Regions from separate parts of the Homo sapiens genome. Here all the other regions are linked to region 1. Evidence: promoter capture Hi-C in human tissues and cell types (Jung and others, 2019). All regions are on one chromosome and are shown on one strand. Each heading gives the region's core, a stretch centred on a gene start or on the middle of the fragment in contact. The rest is flanking DNA. Distances are from core to core; before and after follow the strand shown. Region 1 holds the start of C1orf56 (chromosome 1 open reading frame 56). Region 2 overlaps GOLPH3L (golgi phosphoprotein 3 like). Region 3 has its middle 8.4 kb from the start of SELENBP1.

What was found. The method cuts DNA at HindIII sites, captures the fragments that hold promoters and counts their contacts. A contact is called where the count stands out against the background at its distance.
Region 2: a fragment that was not itself captured here is called in contact with the fragment with the promoter of C1orf56 in region 1 in 1 of the 25 tissues and cell types used here (hippocampus).
Region 3: a fragment that was not itself captured here is called in contact with the fragment with the promoter of C1orf56 in region 1 in 1 of the 25 tissues and cell types used here (hippocampus).

Annotation. Positions count from the first base shown.
Region 1 is chr1:151,046,337-151,049,903 of GRCh38, reverse strand. It overlaps C1orf56 (chromosome 1 open reading frame 56), which reads right to left and starts at 2,153. Exons shown (of 2, transcript NM_017860.5): 1 at 1,052-2,153. The coding sequence starts at 2,056. It overlaps BNIPL (BCL2 interacting protein like), which reads right to left. Exons shown (of 10, transcript NM_138278.4): 10 at 2,184-3,253. The coding sequence ends at 3,217. RefSeq lists enhancers at 1,256-1,495, 1,776-1,825. The HindIII fragment of the contact is 7,874 bases long and covers 1-3,567 here.
Region 2 is chr1:150,665,004-150,668,570 of GRCh38, reverse strand. All of the region lies in intron 2 of GOLPH3L (golgi phosphoprotein 3 like), which reads left to right. Among named protein-coding and RNA genes, the nearest start is that of GOLPH3L, 30 kb to the left of the region's middle. The HindIII fragment of the contact is 6,824 bases long and covers 1-3,567 here.
Region 3 is chr1:151,379,289-151,382,855 of GRCh38, reverse strand. No RefSeq gene overlaps it. Among named protein-coding and RNA genes, the nearest start is that of SELENBP1, 8.4 kb to the right of the region's middle. The HindIII fragment of the contact is 4,780 bases long and covers 1-3,567 here.

The DNA of each region.
Region 1 (3,567 bases), core at 904-3,403:
ATTAGGTCAAAACTATTAATTGATTAAGATCCTTCATATCTGTTAATTATCTGTGCATCAAAAAGACTTTATGGGCCGGGCACAGTGGCTCATGTCTGTAATCCCAGAATTCTGGAAGGCCAAGGTGGGCAGATCCTTGAGCTCAGGAGTTGGAGACCAGCCTGGGCAACATAGCGAGATCTTGTTAGCCAGGCATGGTGGTGCACGTCTGTAGTCCCAGCTATTCAGCAGGCTAAGGTGGGAGGATTGCTTGAGCCCAGAAGATGGAGGGTGCAGTGAGTTGTGACTGCGCCACCACACTCCAGCCTGAGTGATGAGAGACCCTGTCTCGAAAAAAAAGTCTTATGGTCAGGGGCACAGTAGCTCATGCCTGTAATCCCAGCACTTTGGAAGGCTGAGGCAGGAGAATTGCTTGAGCCCAGGAGTTTAAGACCAGCCTGGGCAACATAGCGAGATCTTGTCTGTGAAAAAAACAGAGAATTTCCAAGACCAGGCATGGTGGCTCATGCCTATAATCCCAGCACTTTGGGAGGCCGAGGCGGGTGGATCACTTGAGGTCAGGAGTTCTAGACCAGCCTGGCCAACATGGTAAAATGCTGTCTCTTCTAAAAAAAAAAAAAAAATTAGCCGGGCATGGTGGTGGGTGCCTGTAATCCCAGCTACTCAAGAGGCTGAGGCAGGAGAATTGTTTGAACCTGGGAGGCAGAGGTTGCAGTGAGCCAGGATCACGCCATTGCACTCCAGCCTCGGCAATAAGAGTGAAACTCTTGTCTTGAAAAAAAAAAATATTTCCAATCTTAACTATTTGGTCAATAATCACCTAATGAGCAGTAAGACATTTTACCTAATGACCAACCAGTAGTTGCTCAATAAATAATAGGTGGAATCAATGGCTAACAATGTGAATAACCAATGCATGTTATGAATCAATAACCAGGTAAGTCAGTAACAGTTCATGTAAGCAACACTGGCTGGCTTAGCAACTGGGTTTTAGATACCAGGACTTTTCAGATCCGTCAACAAAGACCCTGGCTCATCACCAAACACTTACTGGTTGCATCTCTGTGAACACTGAAGAGAGGCTATTCCAAATATCCTCCAGGCCAATCCTGACCCGTTTCCAAAAAGCCAGGGCTGGGCAGGGGCTGGCGGGTGGCAGGCTGGGACTGCTTCTGAGGTGGATGGTGGGGAAGGGGGTAGTGGTGGTCCTGGTACTGGTGGTGCTCTGAGAGGCACAGTTGGTGTCAGTACAGAGACTTGTGTCCAGGGGGCACTCTTCCCGAAGTCGGTTGCAGGGACATTGTTGATAGGTGCAAGGCTTGTGCTCCGTGCGGAGCTGGCTCAGCGCCCCAACTCGAAGGCGCCCGGAAAGGCCGTGCAGCTTCCCAGACCGGCTCCGGCTCATGGTGCCCGACTTGCAGTGGCAGTGCCACGGGCCCCAGGGCATCAGCACCAGCCGCAGATCCTCAGGAGATGGCATGGCTGTGGGTGAGGGTGACGGCCACCGGCTCGGGGTAGACCCAGGTGTGGACCACTGGCTCAGGGTGGCCTGCGAGCCTGGCAGGTCCTCAGTAGACCTCCCGGGGGAGCGCGGCAGGCTTGAAGTCAGCCTGATTTCAGGCTCCTGACTATTGGCTATAAACCTCGTGCTGGAACTCCCCGCTGTATTGGGAGTCGCACTGGGAAGCTCTCTGCTGGTGCTATCCTTTCCGGCATTAATCACAACCCCCTCTTCTGAAGACCCATCCTCCTCGTTAATGGCGGACGACCGGCTAAAGCCGGTGGACACCGTGGCGGCCAAGAGCTCGGCAGCCGCTGGTCCAGCCAGGCGGTCGGCGTCGGCCATGGCATCATTCTCGTCCTCTAGGATTATCCTTGTCTTCCGGGGAAGACCAGTCCGGGCGGTGCTCCGGTAGCTGCGGGTCATGGGGCCCCCAAAGCGTAAACTGACCCGCTGCATTTCGGTCGGAGTCTGGGTCAGGCCTTGGGCCCCCGCCGCCCGGGGACCCAGATTCAGCAGCAGGACCCACAGCAGCGCGCCGGCGGCGGGGACCATGGGGCTGGGCTCTTGGGGTTGGGAGGGTGGCCAGTGAGGCAAGCCCTGCCTCCTACCTTCGCTCCCTCCCTTCCGCTGTAGACCCACCGGGTCGTTTGAACCGAGGCCCGCGGGGAAGGGGGTGGGGTTCGACGCGCAGGCGCGCTCGCGCGGGCCGCGCGGGGTGCTCCTAAGGAACCTCTGCGGCAAGAACTCTGCCAGAACCGAAGGTTTGGGATGCAAGGGGTGGTGAAAGAGTCGTTCACTTCTTTGGAGCAGAGCTTAAATGTCTCATCGCAGTTTATTAGCCTCTACAGTTCTAAATTTACTAAAGAGGGCAAAAATACAGGTTTTGAAAGCACTCCTTCCCAGGCTCACAGGCAGCAGACATGACTTAGAAGGAAAAAGGGCATACAGCGGTTCTTCAAGATTTAATGAGCTGACTCTCCTGGCTCCCAGCAGGCAGGCTGGCTGTCAGGTAAGCCTCTTCCATCCAAGGTGGAAGGATCACAGTCCCTCCAGTTAGACAGGAGGAAAATTAGGACCCAAAAAGATGAAGTTATTTGCCCAAGGTTCTACAGCTAAAGTAGGATTAAAACCCAGAGCTCTGGCCGAGCGCGGTGGCTCACACCTGTAATCTCGGCACTTTGGGAGGCCGAGGCGGGCAGATCACGAGGTCAAGAGATCGAGACCATCCTGGCCAACATGGTGAAACCCCGTCTCTACTAAAAATACAAAACAATTAGCTGGGCGTGGTGGCGTGCGCCGGTAGTCTCAGCTACTCGCTGAGGCTGAGGCAGAAGAATGGCTTGAACCGGGAGGCGGAGGTTGCAGTGAGCCGAGATCGCACCACTGCACTCCAGCCTGGCGACAGAGCGAGACTCCGTCTCAAAAAACAAAAAACAAAAAAACCCAGAGCTCTGCATATCCCATACAAAATGACCCTACATTCAGCCTTCCGTCCCAGCAACTGGAATGAAAGTCACCCAGCAGATCAGTTTCCCAGCCTCAAAGCCCTGCTGAAAGTAGGGTCATGCAAAGGACAAAATCCCACTGAGAAGTGAAGATCCGGTGGTACTGAGGTTGGGGATAAGATGATTTACAAAACAGTTCAGATGTTTCAGGGATTCAGGTGTAGGCAGATCACTAACTGGTTCTAAGGCCTTTTATCCAGTCCTGTGCTATGTCCCTCCTGAGCCATGGAGATCCCGGTCCAGCCTAGGAGAGGGAGAGGGGGAGGAGAGAAGTGGTTCAGGGGGTAGGACTTGGGTTTTATTTTCTGGTTTGGGGAGAGAAGCCAGGTGAATTGGAAGAGCTAGATGATTGGGTTGAGTCATCATTTAGCACTTTTGCTCCCTAACACCCTCTCCCCCACTGGATATCATCTGTTCACTGCCAACACATCTCTTCCTAATTTCTAGGGCCAGTCTGAATCTCCTCTGCACTGTGATTATTCCTTTATTCCTTATTGCCTCTGCACTTATATGTATAGGTTTTTTTTTTTTTTCATTTATTCTTGTTGGATGCAGTAG
Region 2 (3,567 bases), core at 533-3,032, 380 kb after region 1:
TCTCTACTAAAAATACAAATATTAGCTGGGTGTGGTGGCACGCGCCTGTAGTCCCAACTACTTGGGAGGCTGAGGTGAGAGGATTGCTTGAACCAGGGAGGTGGAGGTTGCAGTGAGATGAGATCATGCCACTGCACCCCAGCCTGGGCGACAGAGCGATACCCTGTGTCCAAACAAAAACAAAACCAAAAAAACAAATATGACTTGGAGTAGCCATGAGGCAGGCAGGGGAGGGAACTAATCCCAACCTTGAGTCAAAGATCAGACCCTCAGGAAATTTGGAGATGTCTAAGGAATATTTTATGGCTCAAGCTGAACTTTTGCCAGGTTAACATTTACTTTTAAGCATAAATTTATGCTTTCAAAAATATTTTTGCGGCATAAGGGATATTCTCTCCTTAAGGAATTTGTAGTCTGGTCAGGAGAAATAGTTGTTTGCAATATGATATAATAGAAGTTATGAGAGAAGTATGTATGGGCACACCCAGGTGCAGAACCTAATCCAGAGGGTGGAGTGGAGAAGTAAACAATGTTAGAGAAGGTTATGTGGAAATGTGACCCCTGTACTTAACGCTTAACTACAAAGAGGAGTTTTGGAAGGAAGAATATTGGTTCTTTTCAACAGAGCAGTGTGTGCAAAGGCCAATAGGGGAAAGAGGCCAAAGAAAAGACTAGTGGGCCGGGCGTGGTGGCTCACTCCTGTAATCCCAGCACTTTGGGAGGCCGAGGCAGGCGGGTCACGAGGTCAGGAGATCAAGACCATCCTAGCTAACACGGTGAAACCCCATCTCTACCAAAAATATAAAAAAATTTAGCTGGGTGTGGTGGCGGGCGCCTGTAGTCCCAGCTACTCGGAGGCTGAGGCAGGAGAATGGCGTGAACCCGGCAGGTGGAGCTTACAGTCAGCCGAGATTGCGCCACTGCACTCCAGCCTGGGTGACAGAGAGAGACTCCGTCTCAAAAAAAAAAAAAAAAGAAAGAAAAAAAAAGAAAAGACTAGTAAATAGCCACTTTTGTTTTGTTTTGTTTTGTTTTTACAGACAAGGTCTCGCTGTGTTCCCAAAGGCTGGCCAACTCTTGGCCTCAAGCGATCCTCCTGCATTAGCCATTTGGATTCCATCCTGAAGGCTGAGAGGAATGTTTGAAAGATTTTTAAGCATGAGGGGAGGGAGTTATATCATTACACTTGATGTTAAAGATTGTCCTGGCTATAGCAGGACAAATAGAATTAGAGGTCCTCTAGCCCTGGCAGTATGGTGGTCAGATATTAAGTCTTGAATAAGCTTAATTTTTAATGTATTATTGAGTCTTGGAAAGTAGAAATAATCTTCAAGGGGCCCCCAAACACCAAAATTAAAATCCAAGAGGTGAGCAATAAAGATAACATGAAGATCAAATTACCCTGGGGCAAATTACCAAATCAGTCTTGAGATTCAGGAGTTGGTTGGTCAGGAATAAACTTGATGGTTGAGGTAAAGTGGGGAAACTAGGCTTAAATGTGCTCCCAGTTGTGTGGCACTCCCACAATCCCTCTGTACTTGGCTCTCGGCAGAAACAGATCTTTCCCTCTGAAGGAAGATGTCCTCAATTTAGGCCTCCAGAATCTCGTAAATTCACAAAACGTTAAACGTGAACCTCTTAATCAAAGATCATCAAACATACAAACAAGGAAGAAGTGACAAATAAAGTCCTCAGATATTGTCAGGTATCAAGGACCTCATATATTGTCCCATATTAAAATAATCAGACTAAAAATATGACATTTTTAAAGAAATAAAATAATCACAAAATAAACAAAAAATCACAAATCACCAGACAAATGTGAAAAATAACTAAATAAAACTTCTACTAATGAAAAATTGTTGAAATCAAAATCTCAGGGTTAGTTTGAATTAGTAAATAGGAAGCCGGATATTTTTTAAAAACTCTCCAAAGGCCAGGCTGGTGGCTCATGCTTGTAATTCCAGCACTTTGGGAGGCTGAGGCAGGCAGATCACCTGAGGTCAGGAGTTCAAGACCAGCCTGGCCAACATGATAAAACCCCATCTCCACAAAAAAATTAGCCAGGCGTGGTGAGGTGCACCTGTAATCCCAGCTACTTGGGAGGCTGAGGCAGGAGAATTGCTTGAACCTGGGAGACGGAGGTTGCAGTGAGCCGAGATTGTGCCATTGCACTCCAGCCTGGGTGACAGGTGAGACTCCATCTCAGAAACAAACAAACAAACAAAAACTCTCCAGAAAGCAATACAGAGAACAAGCAAATGGAAAATATAAAAGGTTAAAAGACGGGGTTAAAATAAAGACTGAAGTCCTAGAAGGAAAGAAAAAAGAAAATAAAGGAGAGCCAAAGTGCTTAGAGACCTAAGAGCTGAGAATTTTTGAAGCTAAGAAATGAAACCACAGTTATGGGAAGCACAACATATACCAAACAGAATAAATAAATTCATGCACAGTCATGTTATAGTAAAACTGCAAAACACCAAAAGAGAAGATCTTAAAGGACCAAAGAAAAGATACACCACCTACAAAAAAACCACAATCAATAAGAAAGATAGATTTCTCACTGCTATATTAGAAGCTGGAAGAAGAGGGCATACTATCTTCAATGTGATAACCTGGAATGATCAACCTGGAATTTTATGTCCAGAGAAACTATCTTTCAAGGATGATGGTGAAATACAAAGACATTTCAGATAAGCAAAATAGAAACTGCCTCCAACAGACTTTCACTTAAGGAAATTCTACTTTAGGAAGAAGAAAAATGGTGCCAGAAAGGAAGTCTGAGATACAGGAAGGAACGGTGAGCAAAGAAATTCGTAAGCACCTGTGTAAATCTAAACAAGTGCTACCTGTATAAAATAATAATGATGATGATGATATCTAATTTATGAGGCTAAAAAAAAATACTGGACAACTAAAAGAGTGGTTAAAATATTAATATTTAAAATTTAGGTTTTATGTTAATTTTAAATTAATGTATCATGCATGTTAAAATTTCAAGGATAACTTCTAAAAGTACATAACTTCCAAGCCAATAAAGAGGAAAATTGAATTAAAAAATTTTTTAAATAGTTATTATAGCTAGGTGCAGTGTCTCATGCCTGTAGTCTGAGCTACTTGGGAGGCTGAGGCAGGACAATTGTTTGAGCCCTGGAGTTCAAGTCTACAGTGAGCTATGATGGCCCCACTGCATTTCAGCCTGGATAATGGAGCAAGACCCCGCCTGTCTCTTAAAAAAAAAAAGTAACCCCAAAATATGCACAACTATGATCTATCAGTAAAACACCACCAAAAAAACAACCACTTAAAAATTTCTCTATTTAGCTTCGTGACCTCTGTTATGCTGTATAACCTCTGTAAGCCTTAGTTTTCTCATCTTTAATGTGTGGGTAGTAGTAGTACTTCCTTTATAGGGTTGTTGTGAAGATATAATCAGATAATGCATGTAAAAAGCTTAGCACAAATCTAGTACATAATAAGTATTAGCACATATCTAGTATATAATAAGTATTCAATAGACATTAGTAATTAAACGTTACTGCTGTTAGACAATACCAGTGGCTCTCT
Region 3 (3,567 bases), core at 362-2,861, 330 kb before region 1:
CACCTGAGGTCAGGAGTCCAAGACCAGCCTGGCCAACATGGTGAAACCCCACCTTTACTAAAAATACAAAAAATTAGCCAGGTGTTGTGGCACGAGCCTGTAATCCCAGCTACTTGGGAGGCTGATGCAGGAGAATCGCTTGAACCTGGGAGGCGGAAGTTGCAGTGAGCCAAGATCACGCCACTGCACCCCAGCCTGGGCAACAAGAGCGAAACTCAAAAAACAAAACAAAAAAACACAAAACATTAAATTTACCATCTTAACCATTTTTAAACGTATAGCTCAGTAGTGTTAAGTATTTCACACTGTTGTTCAACAGCTCTCTAGAACTTTCTCAGAAGGGCTGTATTGCTGCAACAACAACAACACAGCGTATGTTAGGTTCTGGGTGCTTTTCGAAGAGCTTTATGTATATCATCATGCAATTTTCAAAACACCCTATGAGGGGAATAGATATTTTATTTTCTCTCTTTTAGAGATGAGGAAACCGAGGTACAGAGAGGTTAAATTACTTGCCCAGATTCATAAAGCTAGTAACTGGTGGAAGTGGAATTCACACACACAGTCTGGTTCTAAAATTCTTGTTGTTAATCTCTTAATAATAGACCACTTCTGGCTGATGATGGTGTATAGTGGAGAGCCAGCCACCTGTAACCCAGCCTAGAATGTTTTTCTTCTCTGTAGTCTTCATGTATAACTTCTAAAGCTCTTAGGGTGGACTGAGGGGAGAGGGTATTGGCAAGACAGGGCTAGCCAGGCGACTCCGCAGCTTCTCTCTGCTGTTGGCAGCTTCACTCTCAGGGTTCCTTTCGGGCTCAACCCAGTTCTACTTAAGGATGATGAGCTCCTGGGCTTGGTTCCTGGGCTAGCTAGGTGGATCAGATAATCCCCAGTTCATAAGGAGGCTTGAGTCAAAGGCCACCTGGTGTCCCATCCTCTCATGTTTGGTTTCTCTTGGGACCCAGAAGCTCAGAAGAGGCTGTTTTTCAAGAGAACTGTTCTTTGCTGAAGTGGGCTGGGCTCAATCATTTGGGGTCACCCTGGGGACTCTCCTTCTGCCTCTTGCCTGCCTCATCCCATGGATCACCCCAACTCACCAAGCATCACTGGATCTGCTCGATCATAAGGCCCCAGTGGCAGAAGTGGTTGCAGCCAGAGAGCCCTTTCTTGTCCTAGATCCCAATCAAAGGACACTGCCTCTACCCCTCAAGTTCTATGTGCTGCCATGGCACCACCAGCTGCGCTGGACCCTGGGAGGTTCTGCAGCATGGTGACCCACCCGCACACCAGCCTTCCCTGCAGCAACCAGAACCCACTCCCTACTTCCTTGTGTTGGAGTCTCCGGTGGGCACACCTGGCTGCGTCCAAGACCAAGTCACATGCTTGCTCCTAGCAGCAAGGAGGCCTAAGGCCTGGGACGGTGAGTATCTGGCCTTTTGCCTCCCACCCAATATAGAAAGGGCTGAATGTGCTGGCCAGCCATCCAAGCAACAAAACACAAAAGCATTCTGTCTGAAGGGGCTGCGAACTTATGTGCATAGAGGTCCCAGGCCAGAGCCTGAAGCTACTGCCTGGCTTCAGATCCTGGGCTCTGCTACTCACTAGCTGTGTAACTTTGTATGAGTTGCTTCCTCTTTCTATGCTGTAACTTCTTTATCTGTAAATTGGACATAATGAAAATACCCACTTCATAGGGATGTTGTAAACCCTGTATAAGTAAAGGCAGAACATGCAAATAGCTCAGAGAAGTACTTGGCACATGGAAAGCTTTTATATGAGGTGGATGTGGTTCATTTCTCTTTCTTTATCCCTAAGTACTTCGAACAGTACCATGTATTTAATAAATGATAGCTGTTGTTATTTTATTATTACAGTTTGGGTATCCCTTATCCAAACTGCTTGGGACCAGAAGTGTTCCAGATTTCAGATTTTTTTCAGATTTTGGAATACATATATATATATTAAAATATCTTGGGGATGGGACCCAAGTCTAAACGCAAATTTATTTGTGTTTCATAAACACCTTATACACATAGCCTGAAGGTAACTTTATACAATATTTTAAATAATTTGTACATGAAACAAAGTCTTGACTGTGACCCAACACGTGAGGTCAGGCACGCAATTTGCTACCTGTGGTGTCACACTGGTGCTCAAAACATTTCAGATTTTGGAGCATTTTGGATTTCAGATTTTCAGATTAAGGATGCTCAACCTGTACCTATATCTTTTTTCTTTTTTTTTTTTTTTTTTAGACAGAGTCTCCCTCTGTCGCCCCAGGCTGCAATGCAGTGGTGCAATTTTGGCTCGCTGCAACCTCCACCTCCCAGGTTCAAGTGATTCTCCTGCCTCAGCCTCCCAAGTAGCTGGGATTGCAGGTGTGTGCCACCACGCCAGGCTAATTCTTATACTTTTAGTAGAGACAGGGTTTTGCCATGTTGGCCAGGCTGGTCTCGAACTCTTGACCTCAGGGGATCCACCTGCCTCAGCCTCCCAAAGTGCTGGGATTACAGGCGTGAGCCACCGCCTCAACCTGTACCTGTTTCTTGCCTACTTGTGCAGGTATTTCCATGGGATTGCATCCTTGAAGTGAAATTCCTAGGTAAAACAGTATGCACAGTTTAACTTTTGTGAGGTATTGACAAATTGTTTTTGTTAGTAAGGCACCAATTGACACTCTCATTAGTCCTAAATGAGTGGTCCCTTTGCCGCATAGTCTCACCAATACAAGATTTTAACCTTTAAATTTTTTGCCCATCTTATAGGCAAAAATGTTACTGTATTCTTTCACTGTTTCAATTGTTTACACATGTATTTCAAACTTAATATAAAATTTTAAAAATATGATTGATACATAATGTGAAAAATAAAAATTGCTCCCTGTAATCCAATTCTTGAGGTAACCACTGTTAGCTACATTTGGCATGATAAGGGAAGCTTTATCTCTACAAATCCTTTTCTTTAGGTTTTTTTTTTTTTTTTTAAGCGGAGTCTTGCTCTGTCGCCCAGGGTGGAGTGCAGTGGCACGATCTCAGCTCACTGCAACCTCCACCTCCCGGGTTCATGCCATTCTCCTGCCTCAGATTCCCAAGTAGCTGGGACTACAGGCGCCTGCCACCATGCCCGGCTAATTTTTTTTTTTTTTTTTTTTTTTGTATTTTTAGTAGAGATGGGGTTTCGCTGTGTTAGCCAGGATGGTCTCGATCTCCTGACCTCGTGATCCGCCCGCCTCGGCCTCCCCAAGTCCTGGAATTACAGGAGTGAGCCACCACGCCCGGCCTACTTTTTTTTTTTTTTGAGACAGCGTCTCACTCTGCCACCCAGACCAGAGTGCAGTGGTGCAATCACAGCTCACTGCAGCCTCGACCTCCAGGGCTTAAACAATCTTCCCACCTCAGCACACCTTCCCCACCCCCGAAGTAGCTAGGACTACAGGAGCCTGCCAGGCCTAAATTGTTTTAATTTTTTGTAGAGACGGTGTCTCATTATGTTGCCCAGGCTGGTCACAAACCCCTGGGCTCAAGCAATCTGCCTGCCTCAGCCTCCCAAAATACTGACATCAATCAT